Regions from separate parts of the Homo sapiens genome. Here region 1 is linked to region 2. Evidence: promoter capture Hi-C in 16 types of primary human blood cells and fetal thymus (Javierre and others, 2016). All regions are on one chromosome and are shown on one strand. Each heading gives the region's core, a stretch centred on a gene start or on the middle of the fragment in contact. The rest is flanking DNA. Distances are from core to core; before and after follow the strand shown.

The links. The method cuts DNA at HindIII sites, captures the fragments that hold promoters and counts their contacts. A CHiCAGO score of 5 or more calls a contact.
Region 1: a contact is called between a fragment that was not itself captured here and the fragment with the promoter of NOL3 in region 2, in 9 of 17 cell types (activated CD4 T cells, naive CD4 T cells, total CD8 T cells and 6 more). The highest score is 9.1, in activated CD4 T cells.

The regions. Positions count from the first base shown.
Region 1 is chr16:67,042,764-67,045,963 of GRCh38, reverse strand. All of the region lies in intron 3 of CBFB (core-binding factor subunit beta), which reads right to left. Among named protein-coding and RNA genes, the nearest start is that of CBFB, 15 kb to the right of the region's middle. The HindIII fragment of the contact is 688 bases long and covers 1,092-1,779 here.
Region 2 is chr16:67,168,574-67,172,037 of GRCh38, reverse strand. NOL3 (nucleolar protein 3) reads right to left here and starts at 1,500. Exons shown (of 4, transcript NM_001276309.3): 1 at 1,464-1,500. HSF4 (heat shock transcription factor 4) reads right to left here. Exons shown (of 13, transcript NM_001374675.1): 10 at 3,102-3,207; 11 at 2,937-3,002; 12 at 2,690-2,759; 13 at 2,097-2,407. The coding sequence ends at 2,253. RefSeq lists a silencer at 1,254-1,543 and enhancers at 1,754-1,903, 2,394-2,443. The HindIII fragment of the contact is 13,408 bases long and covers 1-3,464 here.

The DNA.
Region 1 (3,200 bases), core at 186-2,685, 130 kb after region 2:
ATTAGCCAGGTGTGGTGGCGGGTGCCTGTAATCCCAGCTACTTGGGAGGCTGAGGCAGGAGAATCGCTTGAACCTGGGAGGCGGAGGTTGCAGTGAGCCAAGATTACATCACTGCACTCCAGCCTGGATGACAGAGCAAGACACTGTCTCAAAAAAAAAAAAAAAAATGTAGAAAGTAGAAGGAAGGAGGGGAAGAGTGAAGGATGCTCTTCTCAGACATATTATTTCTGCCTTCTCTCACTTGGAATATGTAATTCAGGAAAGGTCATGAAAGAGAATTTCACCTTTACACTAAAATGGAAATAATGCAATCCAAAAGAAGAGAAAACGGGACTTCACAATCTTCAAGTGCTTCAGAGGTGCATTTACCATGTATGCAGATTCACGTACTCTAACTGGAAGGTACTATGACATACTAATTTTAAAACATTTTAATTTTTTTTTTTTCAGACAGAGTCTTGCTCTGTTGCCCAGGCTGGAGTGTTGTGGTACAATCTCAGCCCACTGCAACCTCCGCCTCCCGGGTTCAAGCAATTCTCCTGCCTCAGTCTCCCAAGTAGCTGGGATTACAGGCACATGCCAGCATACCTGGCTAATTTTTTGTATTTTTAGTAGAGGTGGGGTTTCATCACGTTGGCCAGTCTGGTCTCGAACTCCTGACCTCAGGTGATCCACCTGCCTCGGCCTCCCAAAGTGCTGGGATTACAGGCATGAACCACCCCACCTAGCCAAAACATTTTAATTTTTTCAGAAAGTCGACTTCCTCTCTTAGATTGAAAAATAACTAAAATAACTAAAATAAAAACTTTTCTTTAAAAATACAAACGCTCTGCCAGCTACAAAGGTGTCAAATATATATATATATATAAGCTTGCAGTTACCAGTTCTAAATTTTATGATTCCGTTATTATTAGAGTATTATAGTTTATCTAAAGCATATTTTTAAAAACCAGATTTCAATACACTAAACTGTCAATAACTAAGTGCTGTCAATTCATATTTTAGTCGAACTGAAATACTTAAAATCCAGATGTGACAAGGTATTTGTAAAGTTGTCTAATTTCTCTTGAAGAAAATCACACTCCAAAGCTTTACCATAGAGATCTTTTATTTGGAATGACTGGGCTATCTACAGAGAAGGAACTTCTTGAGCTTAAATAGGGATTTCTCAAAGCTAACATCAAGAAGTCCTGTAAACTCTGCCAAATTGTGGATGGTATATAAACAAACACAATATGTATTTTGGGACAAAGATCCTGCAGGCAAGTGCGTAAATGGTACCAGAAGAAGCAGAATCATAGACCTTTATTAGAAAAGGCCATTTAAAATAAAATTCTGTCCTCACTCATTAAATCCAATCTTGTTAGATTTTGCTTTATTTTATGCTCATAAAAATAAATTAAAAGACTTTTAAGTATAAAGTCCAGAAAGAAAAAAAATACAACTTATCAAAATTTTTAAAAGTAGCTACTCTAATGACATATACTTAATAAATACTTCTCGATGTCTGACATTAATGTATTTGACTATCAATTAAAATCATAAGCTATAAACAAGAATGTAACAACCATAGAAAAGTTTAACCTCTCTTTTTCTGAGGTCAATGTGGTAAAAACGAGATAGCATATTCAATTTCCACAGAAAAAAATGAACAGTAGCACTGTAAAGTTCATTTTTTTCCTTTTATGAAATGATTTTCATACCCCTTATCTTTAAAGTCATAAACTGGGATCGCAAAGTAAGTACATCCAATCATTATTTCAAAATCCCAATGAAGCTTTATGAGACACAGAATACATGTAAAAACCATTAATCTGACCACTCAAGACTAATAATTTATGGTCAACCATAATCACTTGCATTTATTTGAAATAAAAGTAATTGGAAATAAGTCCTAAGAGGAAAGATCAAAGGAACTGGAGTTGCCTGGTCTACACAATTTTAACTTAAGAATGATTTAAATTCTGATTAGTTGCTTTTCCCTTGTCTTTTGACAGCTAGATTAAAGAATTAAGAACATTTTGGCTGCCAGTGTTTGTAACACACCAGGATGGAACACTTGGGAAAGATGTAGTGTTCCAACATTGTTCAACTACCTGACGTGAAGCTTACCTAAGGCACACTGTAGCACAAACACTCTATCAATCAGTTAGCTATAATCTCACCCTACAGAACCATCAAATTGCCTAACTGTAGACAGGGGTTTACAATTTAAAAGGCATTTTCACATATTCTGGTACTACATTTAATTCTCACATGAGGCACATGAATAGGGCAGACATTCTGATCCTCATTTACATGTTAAGGAAAATAGTTATGACTGTCTTGACTCAAATCTAGAGCTCTTTCTATTATACTGTTATTAGTTTAAATCATTTCTGAGAAAGATCCTTATTAAGAGCCAATGTAGACAGCTCACCAGGTACCTGGGTATAAAAGTTTCAAATATATTTGAAGGATTATAAAATTCTGTGCTCTGACTTGGTCATATGTAAGGTATATACTTATAATCAGTCACCCGTTAACAGACCTTCCTTATAGAAGCCCTTGATTTGAAAATATTCTATAGCCACATAAGCAACAGAATGAATAAAAGGACTAATTTCTATGAGCCCATTTTCTTAAATCATAAAACTGTATTTCAAATAATAGAGAATATAGAGCTTTTTGTTTCCGCTCTATTAGGATTCTAATTTTTTCTGAGTTCGCTAAATTTAAGTGAGTATTATTGTAGCTGGCCTCCAAGATGGCCTCAATGATCCCAGCCTCCTGGTATTCACACCCCTGTGTAATCCCTCCCTCCCTGTTGAATGTGGGCTAGACTTAGTGACCAGCTTCTAATGAACAGGCTAAGCAACAAGTGACTCAAATAATAGATCATAAAAGGTATGAAAGTGACTTGAAGAATGGATCATAAAAGGCATGGTGGACCAGGCGCAGTGGCTCACACCTGTAATCCCAGCACTTTGGGAGGCTGAGGCAGGCAGATCACCTGATGTTAGGAGTTTGAGACCAGCCTGGCCAACATGGTGAAACCCTGTCTCTACTAAAAGTACAAAAATTAGCCACATGTGGTGGCATGTGCCTGTAATCCCAGCTACTTGAGAGGCTGAGGAAGGAGAATTGCTTGAACCCGGCAGGCAGAGGTTGTAGAGCTGAGATTACGCCACTGCACTCCAGCCTGGATGACAGAGCAAGAC
Region 2 (3,464 bases), core at 251-2,750:
GGTCTTTCTCAGTACCCTCTGGTGTCACACTATACCTCCCCCGTCACTTCACACCCTGGCTTCCTCCCATTGAAGCCCTTCCCCACCAGGCCGAGACCAGGACTACCCCCTGCCCCTCCATCTCCCTTTATGTCCCGTATGTGATGAATCTTGCTTCTCCACTTCTCAGTGAGTCTCCATCAGCTCCTGCCTTGCCACCCCACCATCGTCACCTCATGTCCTGTAACAGTCCCTCTGAGCCCCTCTCACTCCCATTCTGCCAGGCCCGATAGCACAGTGACTTTGACAACCCTCTGGGCTAGGATTGCTGTTCCCATTTTACAGATGAGGAGACAGGCTCAGAGATTCAGTGGTAAAACTGGAATCTTACTTGCTCCAGCCTGAACTATGAGGAACTGAACTATATTTTCCTGTCTAGCAGAATTCCATCCTAAATACCTATCTACCTCCCCCCCACACCCCACTGCCCATCAGAGACAACCCAAAATATCTGGTCTGGCTACTCTAGCCTCCTCCCACCACCCTGGACAGCCAGGCCCTTCCCAGCTTCCCTCCACCAGCCAGGGATCGGAGAACTCACTATGCCTCTGGCACCTCGGAGCCTTTGCTGATGCTGATCGCTAAGACTGGAATCCTTTTCTCCTCCCTCCGCTCCGTGGACCTATCCATCGTCCAGGACTCAAATGTTCCCTTGTCTACACCAATGCCTAAGTGTCCCAAGGGCTGGTGGTTCCTTCTTCTGTGTACCGTGAACAACACATGCCCTCACTAGTGCATTAACTGACATCATTGCACTGTGTACACGCAGACTCTCCGCTTTCTTCAACTGAGTTTTCCAGAGTGTCCCTCCAATCGGTGGGCAAAGGAAGGGAGAGGGGGACAGCACCTACTCGGGACAGACACAGGGAGGGTGCAGATTGGATTGGCCCCTCCTTCTCTCCAACCTAAGTTGTTTTCATGTTAGCCGCCTCCTCCTATGACCCCAAGTCCTGCCCTTTATCCTGTCTGGGGGTAGAGACTCCAGCTGGTCTGGGCCCTCCCTTTGAGGCTCACACAGCTCTCAATACCGAAGTTATTTAGCGGCCAGTCCTTCGAGGGTGACAGGTCCGATTCTTCCCAGAGAGCCAGGTGGCGGGGCACGGAGCTGGGTCCCAGCCCCCAACCCCACCTCGCTGCGCGGGCTCTTTGGCCAGGAAGCCAGGGTCTTGGGACAGTGAAGAGCCTTTGCGCATGTGCGACTGCACGGATTTTCCCCCCCCGCCCCTTACCTCCCTCCACCCAGTCCCAGAGCTTGAGAGTCCTGCGGCAGGGCGGGGCCCACAGTCCTACCCACCCCGCCCCCCCGACCCCCGAGCGCCGCAGCGGGTGGTGGGGCGCTGATTCTGCCCAATCTCGGTTTCCCTTCCCTCCCACAGCCGGGAGTGGGGCTCCCGGTCTGGCCCGTTTTGGGCGTCCCCACTCACGGGTCAAGCCTCGGCGGGGCAGGAGATGACGGTGCAGAAAGGGCCGGGCAGGGTGGGGGTGGGTGCAGCAGCTGCGGCGGGGGCGGGGCGGCCAGGGCTGCTGGGAATAGGGAGGGTGAGGGTTCTTCCCCGGGCACTAGGAGCCACACCGCGGAGGCCGCGCGCTGGCTGGGGACGTGCATGTAGTCAGCTTTCCCTCCCCACCCGGGGCGCACCAGGAGATGAGGCCAGGAGGGGGCAGTTCGGCCCGCGGCCCCACACGTCCAGCGCCCACTCAGGGCCTGCCAATTTCCAGGTGCTTTCCATCTATCTTGTCATCGACCCCTCTTCTCTGCCTGTCACAGAGGAAGTTCAGAGAAGGATACCAACTCACCAGGATCACAGAACGCATGCATTGCAGAGCTGAGCGCGACCCAGAAGCCCCCGCTTCCCAGAGATTGCAGCGGCCCCGCGCCAGCCCTGGACCCGGGCCTAAGCAAGGGAGCTAGGCACCGGATCCCCAAGCACCTCCACCCTCCTGGGGTTCCTCTATTAAAAACCTAGTATCTGGACGCTTCTACAAATGCAAAATCACCCCCCACCCATAACTCCTGTGCTCCCTGGTCGATAGAGAAAAGAGACCAGAAACAGAAAAAAAAAAAACGGAGTTTATGTGCAGGGATAGTCGGGGTAGTGGAGAGAGGCCATTTAGTAGTGGGGGCTTCGCTCACCCCCGATAGGGGGCGCCAGGAAGCCAAGAAGGATGTGCAGCGGCGGACTGGTTCCAAGCCCCTTCAGAGGCGCGGGGTCTTAGGGGGAGGGACTGGCTTCCGGGCCCAAGTAGGAGGCAGTCCGGCTCTCAGGAGTGCTATAAATGGTTAAAGCCCCAGGCAGGCCCAGGGCTGGGCCTCCCAAGGCCGCCTGGACATCCAGCAGGAGTGGGGCCCCGAGCGTGGGGTCCTTCCCTAGGAGAAGTGGGACTGCGCTCACCAGGGGAAATGTTCCCCCTCCTTTCTTCAGGGAAGGAGAGCCCTGCCCGCCTGCCTTCTGCTCAGTTAGGATAAAACATCCATTCTTAACCTCCCCACTCTCGCCCAATGGTGAGGGCATGGGTGGCTCAAGGAACGCTCTGCAGTGCAGCCTGAACTCAGGATTTCCCTGCAAATTGCAGATTGCCCCCTCACTCAATCAAGGTAGCTCAGCCCAATCACGGCGTCCTCCCAGGTAGGAGTCATCACAACCATTACCTGGGCTTGGAGAATTTAACCCCTTGACCGCCAGCTCAGGCTCACCCCGCTCTGGAACCAAGGGCTGCATCTGCGTGAGAACCGCAGGGAGCAGCTGGGGAGGGGACCTAGCAGCTGAGGGGGACAGCTGGGAAATCACTGTGACAATTCTTCTAGAGACACGGCTTTGGCTCACAGAGAACAGCTATGGACCAGAGGGCTTGACTCAGCCACCCCTGGCCTCTGCCCTCCCCGACCCACTTCTTACCAAGGACAGCTCCATGTCCAAGTCCATCAGGGTCCATTCTCGCCCTTGGAGACTGGGGCCCAGCACCTGAGGAGAGCTCTGGGTCAGTGGTGCCCTCCCCAGGCTCCACAGAGAGCTAGACCCCACCAGGTCTCATGCCCCTGTTTCAGCAGAAGGGGTACTCACATCTAGAGGCCCTGCAGGTTCCACACTTTCTTGAGGGGGCTGAAGCAGCATCGGAGGCAGCAGACTCTCTGGGCTCCTGTCCCCGCTTTCCAGGCCCAGAGGCCCCCTGTGCAGACAGAACTGCTTTTGGCCTGCAGTGTCCACCCCGCATTAAGTTCCCAAGGAACCCAGATGCATCAAGATTTTAATCCCCCAATCTTTAGAAAATGATAGGAGAGGATCCCCATCCTCTCTCCACCCCCAACCTCCCCACTCCTGCCATAAATGGCACAGAGAAAGTGCCTCTGCTTCCTACCTGGGACCTGAAGTTTGGGTGGTGGAGCTGGGGCTTTGGGACCCTTCCCCTCCCTATGCAAGTATCAA